Regions from separate parts of the Homo sapiens genome. Here region 2 is linked to region 1. The links are contacts of gene promoters, found by promoter capture Hi-C in blood cells and fetal thymus (Javierre and others, 2016). All regions are on one chromosome and are shown on one strand. Each heading gives the region's core, a stretch centred on a gene start or on the middle of the fragment in contact. The rest is flanking DNA. Distances are from core to core; before and after follow the strand shown.

What was found. Contacts are between HindIII fragments. The CHiCAGO score rates a contact against its expected background, and 5 or more counts as called.
Region 2: a fragment that was not itself captured here is called in contact with the fragment with the promoter of PRKG1-AS1 in region 1 in 2 of 17 cell types (endothelial precursors and M2 macrophages); the score reaches 6.3 in endothelial precursors.

The regions. Positions count from the first base shown.
Region 1 is chr10:52,310,498-52,316,405 of GRCh38, forward strand. It overlaps PRKG1-AS1 (PRKG1 antisense RNA 1), which reads right to left and starts at 3,631. Exons shown (of 6, transcript NR_038277.1): 1 at 3,137-3,631; 2 at 2,901-2,988. DKK1 (dickkopf Wnt signaling pathway inhibitor 1) reads left to right here and starts at 3,784. Exons shown (of 4, transcript NM_012242.4): 1 at 3,784-4,180; 2 at 4,426-4,588; 3 at 5,798-5,908. The coding sequence starts at 3,938. The HindIII fragment of the contact is 4,208 bases long and covers 1,652-5,859 here.
Region 2 is chr10:52,546,761-52,552,927 of GRCh38, forward strand. All of the region lies in intron 1 of LOC124902426 (a long non-coding RNA gene), which reads left to right. Among named protein-coding and RNA genes, the nearest start is that of LNCAROD, 79 kb to the left of the region's middle. The HindIII fragment of the contact is 1,620 bases long and covers 2,250-3,869 here.

The sequences.
Region 1 (5,908 bases), core at 2,381-4,880:
AAGAGAAAGAAGGAAAGAAGGGAAGGAGGGAGAGAAAAAAGAAAAGAGGAAAGAAGGGAATTTAAAATACAGCAGTAGACTGGGCGCGGTGTCTCACTCCTGTAATCCCAGCACTTTGGGAGGCCAAGGTGGGAGGATCACTTGAGCCTAAGAGTTTAAGACCAGCTCTGGCTAGCAACATAGTGAGACCCTGTTTCTACAAAAAAATTAAAAATTAGCCAGGTGTGGTGGCATGCAGCTGTAGTCCCAGCTACTTGGGGGTGAGGTGGAAGAACCGCTTGAGCCTGGGAGGTCAAGGCTGCAGTTAACCACGATTGCACCACTGTGCTCCAGCCTGAGCGACAGAATGAGATCCTGTCTCAAAAAATATATAAAAATATATAAAATAAAAAAAATCAGCAGTCACAAATAATAGAGATGGAAAAATAGTTGGTGAATAGCATGGAGTGTTTTGGAGTATATTTGTCTGTCTCCCTCATGGATGAAAAGGTTGAGAAATATTCTATGCATGGCATCCAGCACTTAAAATATAAAGAAGACATGTGTTAGCATGCTGTTCCCGAGTTATGAGGTTCAATTCCACGCTGATAAGCATATTTCACCTATTCAAAAATATAATACAAAATATTAAATTTGTTACATTAATTATGATCATATTTATACCAGACTGAATAGGAGGCAGGGTTCCCTACAGGACTAAATAAACTCAGTTTAATAAACTAAATTCATCTACTCTGGCTCCCACCTCCTCTGTCACCCAGCTGTAAGAGAGACTCAGACAATCACCAGAACCCTCTCTCCTTCCTAAGACATGTTGGTCACAGTTCCTGCACATTTTTCTTGCTCTCCATGACCTAGTATCTGCCAAAATATAATCGATGTTGGAAAAATTTTTACCCCCAGCCCCATGTAAGTATGTTGTATTTCCCCAACTAGTCACAGACTGAAAGCTGAGGACAAGAAGCCTGCCTTTCATATTGTGAGATATGCTCCCAATAATGGATACTCACCGAATATTAACTGGCTGCTGATGGAACAATGAGTTTTACTATACCTCTTTATCTACCTTGCACTCTTGTTGCCAATGAACAAACCACATCCTGGAAAGGATTTTCAAATGGAGAAAAAGTACTGAAAAAATAAATTTCCTCATTTGGAACAAAGGTTTGATTTGCTATGTACTTAGCCCTCTCTGAGGACCACCCATGTAATTTCTCCCCTGAATAATTTGTGAGGTTACCTCTCCTCTGCCCACTAAATGATTTGAAGGTAGATTATATGTGAACTCATCTTTTATCACACAATATCATGTATAATGCTTAGCACAAAGTAGGAACTCAGATATTGACCAACTCATTATTAGTTTTAAACTCATGACAACTTCAGGAGCAATGTGAAAGCTGAGGAAGGAGGTAGAAGCTAGCCCATTCTTGAAACTCTATGCTTGGTTTAGCTCTCCTAGCTCAATACCACAGATTCTGTCCAGACTCAGTGAATATTGAAACATAATAGACAAATGATATGTGTTCAGAGATCAAGGTTGAATTTATGCAACAAGCTTCTTTGTTATAACAGAATTTTCCTTTTGTTGATTAAATTGTTCCACTTTCTCTTCTTTTGCCCCAGGCAATGGATTTTTTTTGTGAAGCCAAGCTTTTAATGAACCAAGTTCATTAAATGTATTAATCATATACTATCTCTTCAGAAAAAAAGGCAAGAGATTGGCCTTTAGTGTGGCACAAATATATTTCTAGATTCAAAATATTTAAACAGGTTAATAGGACTAAAAAGAAACATTTTCAACCTTCTGATTGGCAGGCGGATTTTTCTCTACGTTTCAAAGTCATTCAAACTTAACACAGCTTGCAGATTTCCTAGTACACTGAAGGTGCTTAACGCATTGATTCCTGACAGGATAATTTCCTGGACAGATGGAATTTGGGATGGGAAGGACACTAATATAACTAGGGTACCATTCAAGAATTGTTTAGATGATCTTCTTAATATTACCTTTGAAACTGAAGGAACTAGAACACAGACCATAGTAAATTGTGTTTTAATTACTCCTTCTCCCAGTAAACTTTAGGATTTTTTTACTTTAAGATTGTCACTGGCTTTACTTGGTGGTGGCCCCAGTTCTGACTATAGTAGGTCAGCATGTGGAGTCATTATAGACAGCCTAAATCTATACAGCTTAGAGGAAGACAAAATAAATATATCTTACTCTTTTTTAATTCAATAGTGATTATTCAATCATCTCTCCCTTTTCCAAACTCACAAAACAGTTGCTTATTTTCTGACACTTATAATATCAACCTGTTTTTAAAAGAATTATGTATGCTTTTATATTTATTGCTATAATTTTATTGTTACTACATCTTTTATTATTACTGTAATTAGAATAAAGAGAACTTTATTATTTAAAATGAGAGCTGTGTCTCATAAATATTTGTATTCACTGTGCCCCTCCCCCCACCACCCATCTCACCAAAAAATTTAAAAAATAAAAATAAGGTAACAACCCAGAGGGCAGCCCAATGCCAGGGCTCTAGGCTTCCAATAAGTTTTTGTTGAATTAAATAGATCATTTCCCATTTATAAGCATGACATCATTCTTATACACCAGCCTTACTTTATTATATCCACACACCAATTTCAATGACGTCAAATTCACTTTCTAATTCACTTTCAGCTCTTCTTCTCCTCAAGGTTGTTTCTTTTCTCCCTAGAAAGGGTATTGCGTGGTCCCGTGCAAGGTAAGACTTGGGAGCAAACCCTGCATTCGGAAGCGTTGCGATGTGATATACTAATGAGGAAGTCAGGCGCTAAGCCCTAAGGGTTTCTTATTTCTCCACATTAGCCCACCACTGAGAAGGGAGAACCGGGGAAAGGCGACTGACCTGGCACGTTGGACCCTGTCCGCTTTGGTCCCGGCCACTTTGATCTCACGCGTCTGCCTAATCAAGTTCATCTACCGCCGCGATTGCCCTGATTCAAAGAACAACATTAAATGGTTTGATTATCGGATGGTCATTTCCCTCTTCCCTCCACCCCTGATCTAATTTCTAAACGCCAGTCTCTCGCCTCCCTCTCTAAACTTCCCATCAAAAGAGAATTAGCTCTTCTTCCTTCTTACCCTCGTTTGATGTGCAAATTTCCTTCTCTTTGCACATTTTTCTCGCAGTGGCGGGGGGAGGTGGGGGAGGAGGGCAACTGAAGGACCTCAAAGCCGGGGATCTAACTCAGATCTGCAAACTGCGACTCTAAAGGGTTAATGAGCAACTTGCACCCGCCACCTGGCCCTCTCAGAGGCGTCTTGCTAGAGCCATTGAATTACAGACCGGTTTGTATTTAATACTGAATATGACTTGTGTGCACAGTCAGCGAGTATTGGCATAAAGGAGAGGGGCAAAAAGTGCTTTTGCAGAGCCTATCACCCCTCGGCTCTGTAAAGTATTTCAGATCCGGATAATTCAACCCTTACTGCCAGGCAAGGGCACCCAAGTTCCCAGAGTTCCTGCTGCCGCCTGCATTTATTAAAGTCGTCTGCTATAACGCTCGCTGGTAGCCTTCACCCCGAAGGTGAGCCGGGCCAGCCGAGCGACTAAGCAAGGGAGGGGCGGGGTGAAGAGTGTCAAAGGCCCCCCTTCATGTACACAAACACACCCCCTCCCAGCCCCTCCCAGCGCTTTGAAATCCCATCCCGGCTTTGTTGTCTCCCTCCCAAGGGGCCGGAATGCTCCGGGCCCGCGGTATAAAGGCAGCCGCGGTGGCGGTGGCGGCGCAGAGCTCTGTGCTCCCTGCAGTCAGGACTCTGGGACCGCAGGGGGCTCCCGGACCCTGACTCTGCAGCCGAACCGGCACGGTTTCGTGGGGACCCAGGCTTGCAAAGTGACGGTCATTTTCTCTTTCTTTCTCCCTCTTGAGTCCTTCTGAGATGATGGCTCTGGGCGCAGCGGGAGCTACCCGGGTCTTTGTCGCGATGGTAGCGGCGGCTCTCGGCGGCCACCCTCTGCTGGGAGTGAGCGCCACCTTGAACTCGGTTCTCAATTCCAACGCTATCAAGAACCTGCCCCCACCGCTGGGCGGCGCTGCGGGGCACCCAGGCTCTGCAGTCAGCGCCGCGCCGGGAATCCTGTACCCGGGCGGGAATAAGTACCAGACCATTGACAACTACCAGGTGAGAGGGGTCGGGCACTCAGAGGATGCTCTGACCTTGAAAGGGTCCTATCTGGAGACGAGGGAGTAGAACGTGCTGAATGTGTGCGGTTCAGGGAGCATTTGGTAACCCTGCATTTGGGAGCAGTGGGCAGTAACAGGTTTTGGAGAGGTGGACAGATAAGGACTGTGATCAGCGCCCGGGTCCAAGAGGGCGGGTACCTGGACGTCTGGGTGCCTCACCCTCTCCCCGAACCCTTCCCACAGCCGTACCCGTGCGCAGAGGACGAGGAGTGCGGCACTGATGAGTACTGCGCTAGTCCCACCCGCGGAGGGGACGCAGGCGTGCAAATCTGTCTCGCCTGCAGGAAGCGCCGAAAACGCTGCATGCGTCACGCTATGTGCTGCCCCGGGAATTACTGCAAAAATGGTGAGTCCTGAAAGCTCCCTTTCACACTAAAACTGTCCAGCCTTTGAGCGTCTATGAATTGGGCGGGGGCGGGGGGTTGGGGGGGGTGGGGGGAGAAATCTCCGCCCTGAGAACACTGCGGCGCCACCTGCAAATGGGTGTTCAGCATGCAGGATTCCGCTGAAGTATCTTCATTGCAAGTGTTTAATCGGGAAGAAGAGAGAAGTTGGGAGGTCTCTGAGGTCCTTATCTTCCTCCGTGTCCCTCAATGATTCAATACAACGGTTCACCTCGTAGTGGACTCTTCCATAAAAATTTGTCTGGGGAGAACCTTGAGGTCAATTGAGAAGGGGGATGATGAGGAGGACGATGGGATCATACAGATATCAAAGAAACCAGCTTTGGCGTTCAGCTGTCCTTTTCATTTTTCTTATTGTGATTCTCACAGTTTTGCCAGACTGGCCTCGCCTTCTGATTTTTGCTGAAACTGTTGTCAGCCAGAGGACTGATTTATCTGCATTGGCCATTTTTAAGAGAGATCTTGGTACCCTCACAACTTGACTTCTCCATCCTTCCCCCTCCCTCTACCCTCTGCTGCCTTAATATAAGTACTCCTCCCCCCAACCACAGATCCACTAACTTTTAATTTTTCAAAAGGTGGATTTAGACAGCTAAAGAGGTCTCCAGAAATAAGCTAACAGGGCGACGACCCTCCTTAGGACCCAGCAGTACTCCAGGATGAACTAAGTAAATCTCTGTAATATAGAAATTACACAGTAAAGTAACTGGCCGGTGAGATTGCAATGTTCCAGGCAGCTGGAATTGCATTTGCTTAACTTAGTCTGGTAGGACCCATATAGCACCAGGGGCAGAGAAGTTATTTTTAAGAACATTTTTAAAGTGACTGAGTTTCTTTTTCTTACCCCAAAGGTAATATTAAAATGGGCAGAAATCTCACTTGCCCCTACCACAGTTGGTGGGAAAGTATTTTAAATGGCTATACTGGGGATATTACCTATGACTGACTGTATACAGTATACACATTGGTGCTTCTGTCCATCTGGAGAGTTTTGCATTAACAGTAAAGAGGAAGTTTGGCTTGTGTTTAAAATGATGTCACTGCAATGAAGTATCTCAAGTTGATGCTGGCATAACAGACTGCCACTGTCACAGCTGTTAGCAGTAATGCATTACAACCCTGAAGTTAATCACTATTTCCTGCTTCCTTAGGAATATGTGTGTCTTCTGATCAAAATCATTTCCGAGGAGAAATTGAGGAAACCATCACTGAAAGCTTTGGTAATGATCATAGCACCTTGGATGGGTATTCCAGAAGAACCA
Region 2 (6,167 bases), core at 1,810-4,309, 240 kb after region 1:
GCTGGGATTACAGGCGTCAGCCACCGAGGTTTGTGTTTTTCTCCAGCCATATTCCATTGCATGAGCACTGGGAACAACAACTGAATAATGTATCCCTAGGTGGGATTTTGCCCAATATGTAAAAATCTTCCAAAGATAGAGAAGGAAGTTGAGACAAATGCAAAGAAGAGATGATAATTATTAATCATAAAATTTAATGGACAAGTGATAGTATCAGATTTTAGGCACCAATGGTGCAGAAGGATCAGTGAAGTTACAGTACTAGATGGAGTACCCTGGACGGGTAGAAAGTTGGAGTTGGACAGTAAGACACTTGAAAATGAGATTCTGGAGAATTTTCAGTAATTGGTAAAGACAAGGGCAGGTATACAACCATGAAGGATCACTGGAAGTGAGGCAGTCAGGGAACTGAGAGACTAGGCTTTCAGTTGAATCATCTAGGTTCACCGTCAGCCCTCCATACCCATGGGTCTTGCACCTGTGGATTCAACCAACCACAGATAGGAAATATTCAGAAAAGAATGCATCAGTGCTAAACATGTAGAGAATTTTTCTTGTAATTATTTTCTAGACAGTGTGGTATAACAACTATTTATACAGGCTTTATCTTGCAGTAATCTAAAGATGATTTAAATTATATTGAAGGATGTTCATAGGCTATCTGCAAATACCATGTCATTTTATATAAGGGACTTGAGTATCTGCAGATTTTGGTATTCCAGGAAGATCCTGGAACCAATCCTTCTTGCATATTGAGGAACAGCTCTATGTGAAAGCCATTGTCCTAGTCTATTTGTGTTACTGCAAAGGAGTATCTGAGCCAGAGTAATTTATAAAGAAAAGAGGTTTATTTGGCTCACACTTCTGTTGGCTGTACAGGAAACCTAGTGCCAGCATCTGCTTCTGGTGAAGGTTTCAAGCTGCTTCCACTCATGGTGGAAGTTCTAGGAGAACAGACATCATGTGGCAAAAGAGGAAGGAAGAGATAGAGGAGGGAAGTGCCCCACTCCTTTTACCAGTCACATCTCCTGGAAACTAACAGAGCAAGAACTCACTATTGTGAGAACAGCACCAAAACATTCATGAGGGATCTGCTCCCATGATTCGAACACCTCCCACTAGGCCCCATCTCCAACACAGTGCATCAAATTTCAACATGAGATTTGGAAGGTTCAGATATCCAAACCATAGCAGTTACCAAAAATTAAATGGAAGTAATACCCGGGAGAGGTGCAGTAAGCTAGGAGCTAAGATTTTCAGCGAATGAGGAGTGTATTCCAGATATCAGTGAAAACATTTTAGGTGTGAATAGAAAATAAGCTCAATTTGCCACCTTTTTAAGGTTGTGGCTGCTCTAAGACAAGACAATTGAGATTTTTTAATTTTTTAGTTTGTCAGGGGGATTGTTATGAGGTGCTACAATATAGGCAGAAAAAAGAAAGATGTGTACAATATTATGTTTTTGAATGACTACTTGTCGAGGCTTTCTTTCTGAGAAACTGAACATAATTGGCTCATATATACTAAAAATTGTGTTATACGATTCTCACCTTTAATTTATTTCTAAAAAAATAAAGTTTCCAACGCATTAAAATAAACTTTATTTTTAGCGCAGTTTTAGGTTTACAGCAATATTGAGCAGAAGGCACAGAGACTTTTTCATATACTCCCTGCCTCCACACATACATAGTTTCTCCCATTAACATCTCTCACCAGATGTTGTATTTTTTACAATTCATAAACTTACATTAGCATATCATTATCTTCCAAAGTCCATAGTTTACACTGGGGTTCACTCGCGGGTTCATTCCATGAGTTTGGATACATATATCATGTGTACATCATTATAATATTATATAAATAGTTTTATTATCCTAAAAATCCTTATTCCTGTCTATTCATCCATCTCTCTCCCATCCACTGGCAACCACTGATCTTTTTACTGGATCCATAGTTTTGCTTTATCCATAATGTCATATATTTAAAACCATACAGTAATCGTAGCCTTTTCAGACTGGTTTATTTCACTCAGTAATAAGCATTTAAGGTTCCTCCATGTCTTTTCATGACTTGGTAGCTGATTTCTCTTTTGCTCTGTACTTCTCAAAATGATTGGTGTATACTTTTTTGTTTTTCAGTGCTCCTGATTGTTATTTATGTACATAGGTAGAATATGGCAAAATTGTATTTGCAGATTGAATATTTTCATAAAAGATTTAAAAAACGGCATTCTTATTTTTTCACATTTAAGCTTTCTTCAATTCAAAATGAAATTCAAGATAACACACAGAAATTCGGGATTTACATTAAATTCTGTTATCTGTCTAAGATAATTCTATGCTCTTGATTTAGTTAAATAGTTAAATAGTTTTCCCATTGCAGATTTTTATTAACTGATAGGTATATGTAAGCTGAACTTTATACTATGTCAGGTCCTAAATGGGCCATATTAATAAATGAGAGCTAAAAGAAACATATGTTCTCTTCCCTTGGTACTCACTTAATTGTTAAAGATTCAATAGCATCTTTAAAAGTCTTCAGGAAATAAAAAAAAAAAGTCTTCAGGAAATCATGATGAATTGAATTATTAACTTTATAAATGTATTTATTGTTCATTAAAATTTTTTGAAATGTAAACCCAGCATGTTGAATACTGAGTTAAAACATATATGAAGCTAATCTTTTCAAAAACCTTATTACAAAGTCTCAAGATGAAATTTTTTTCATCATGGTAATCTGAGAGACGCTGTAGAGTGTGGTGTTTAAAAGCCTTATTCTGGAATCCAAAGGTTTGGCTATAAGTCCTTGCTCTGCTAATTGTTAGATTTACCTTAGGCGTGTGATTCAAATTTTCCAATCTTAAATTTCCTCACTGTAAAATAGTGGTAATAAAAGAATCTATTTTATAGGGGTTTTAATTACAATTAAATAATCCATAAAAAGCATTTAGCACAATCCCAGGTATAGAGTAATGATATTTTGTCCTGCCCTCTTCCAACTTCAAGATTTCTCTTAAATCATATCCCATGCTTAGAACATTTTTTTCTTCTTTTCTATATACCAAACCACTTTTTACTCAGGAGGATCTCCTAGCAAGTTTAATTAATTGAAAATGGAGAGATTATTCTAGTGTTCATAAAAATTATTCATGTCAATTTAATCCTAAGGATTTTTAAAATAAATTATAAGATAAGTAGGTTACTTCTATGGACTAAATATTTGTGTCCCCCTTCCCCCAAATCCACATGGTATTAATCCTCAATCTGATGGTATTAGGAGGTGGGGCCTTTGGGAAGTCTGATGGTTTTAGGAGGTGGGGCCTTTGGGAAGTAATTAGGTTTAGATGAGTTCATGAGGATGGGGTCTCCACAATGGGATTAATACCTCTATGAACAAAAGAAGAGACTTGAGATCTCTCTCTTAGTGCATGCACCAAGGAAGGCCATGTAAGGGCATAACCAGGAAGATGCCCCTCACCAAGAAACTGACCATGATGGTACCCTGATCTCAGACTTCTAGACTTCAGAGCTGTGAGAAATAAATATTTGTTGTTTAACTCACCTAGTCTATGGCATTTCATTATGGCAGCCCAAACTAACCAAGATAGTTACTTGGTGGTATTTTATACACACAGTGATTTTGTTGGTGGGACAATATTTTGATGGGCATGGCAATCCTAGAAATTGGTGGAGCTCTACATCCCCTTACTTAACTATGTTTGATTTCCTATACAGGTATTCACACTGAAGACAAGTCACATGTGCTTCCAATTTTGATTGCCAGGGTATTTACACTGAGGAATTATTGTCAAATTGACCTGAAAGCAGTGGACAACATGTTTGTGGTCATCAATAAAAAGTGACTTATAAAGCTTCAGTAATAAACATAGTCTAGAACTACTTTAAAGCGGAAGCTGCCTTTCGCTGGAATGTTATTAAATTTTTGTATCTCTTAGGAAAAGCAGAGTTACTGATATCAATAGCCAAATTTGAATAGTTAGTAACTACTTAATGACATTTGTTGCTATTTGAAAACACCGGTATCCCATATGAGACAGAATGGTTGCTAGAAAGAACAGTGACCCAGGAGTGAGACCCAGGTGCCTACTTCATAGATAGCGGGCTGTAGGCCTGCCACTTCTCCTTCCTGGATCGGTTTGCTCATCTGTTAAATGAAGAGAATGGAGTCTCAGAAATCCTGTCCCAGCATTTCGTGATCCTCTGTTGTTAATTGTAGACTTTAAAGCTTGTGTGTCATTTGTTTGTCTCCTATTGCCTGCTATTAAGATGATTGAAGTATAAGAATATGTCATGTGTTTGTAGCCTGAATTGATTGACCTTGTGCAAGGATCTGGATGAAATTTTCAGTGAAATAATACTCAGTTTTCCCTTCCTGGAGCCTTCTTTATTTCCCACCTCTTTCCATGATGTTTCAGTCTGTCCTAGTTTTATGAGGTTGTTAAAAAATTCACTGTGAAAGATTAGGAGGAAATGATGAGGTCTTTGGTTGCTGGGTAACTGCTTTTTAACCATGATTCAATGTTTAATAAGATTGTTTTATCTGGTTCCAGGGTCTTCCCAGAATTTCACTGTTGCTGATTTTGTGTTCTTTTAAAGAAAAAAAAGAGTACACTTGCAAGTTTTTTTCCATGATGTTTCTTAAATTTATACTTATTTTAAAATGTTCTTCATCAAATATTTCAGCCTGATCAAGTCTTGTTCTTTTTTCTCTTGGTAAGAAGGATTTTATATAAAAAAATTAAAATAGTATATATCTATTCTCTCAAAGCAGTTCCAAAAACTAAATATAAAAAAAATAGTCTTTATAGTCTGTTTAAGCAGGTTTCAAAGTCAGCTCCTCCATTCCTGAAGTTTTTATTTAGATTATTTCTTTCTTATGGCATTTTAAACTTTTTTTCTTTTTAAAATTTTTGTTATTTGTATAGATTTAGGGGGTACAGTGCAATTTTTGTACATTGATATATTGCATAGTGGTAAAGTCTGGGCTGATAGTGTACCCCTCACCTGAATTGTGAACATTGTACCAATAGGAATTTTTCAACCATCACCAGTCTCCCGCCCTCCTCCCTTATGGAGTCTCCTACCCTCCTCCCTTATGGAGTGTCCAATGTCTATTATCCCTCTATGTCTGTGGGTACCCATTGTTTAGTTCCCACTTATTAATGAGAATATGTGGTATTTGATTTTTTTGTTTCTGAGTTATTTCACCTACGATAATGGCCTCAAGCTCTATCCATGTTGTGGTAAAAGACATGATTTCACCTTTTTATGGCTATGTAATATATATATATATATATAACATTTCCTTTATCCAATCATCCATTAATGGACACTTAGGTTGATTCTATAACTTTACTATTGTGAATAGTTATGCAATAAATATGAGTGCAGGTATCTGTTTGATATGACAATTTCTTTTCCTTTGAGTAGATACTTAGTAGTAGGATTGTTGGATTGAATTGTAGTTTTTTTTTTTTAGCTCTTTAAGAAATCTCCTTACTGTTTTTTCATAGAGGTTGTATTTATTTGCATTCCCACCAGGAGCATATAAATATTCTCTTTTCCCTGCATCGTCTCCAACAATTTTTTTTTTTTTTTTACTTTTAATAGTAGCCATTCTGACTGCTGTGAGATGGTATCTCATTGTGGTTTTGATTTGCATTTCTCTGATGATTAGTGGTGTTGAGTACATTTTCATATGATTGTTGGCTGCATGTATGTCTTCTTTTGAGAAATGCCTGTTCATGCCTTTTGCCCACTTTTTAATGGAGTTGTTTGTTTTCTTCTTGTTGAGTTGTATGAATTCCTTGGAGATTCTGGATATTAGTTCTTTGTCAGAAGCATAGTTTGCAAATATTTTCTGCCATTCTGTCAGTTGTCTGTTACTCTGTTGATTATTTCTTTTGCTGTGCAGAAGCTTTTTCATTTAATTAAGTTCCATTATTTACATTATTTCTTAAGTTGTTGAAATTTACTGTTGAATAGCATTTTCAAAGAAAAAATCATGGATGCTGCATTTCCTAAGTTTTTCAAAGCTTAAGAATACCTGCCTGTTGCCTTTATAATTAACGACAATCTACCTGGATATAATCTTTGAGTCACCAATTTTTTACTTCAGGAATTCTGTGGCAATAGCTTAATTTTATT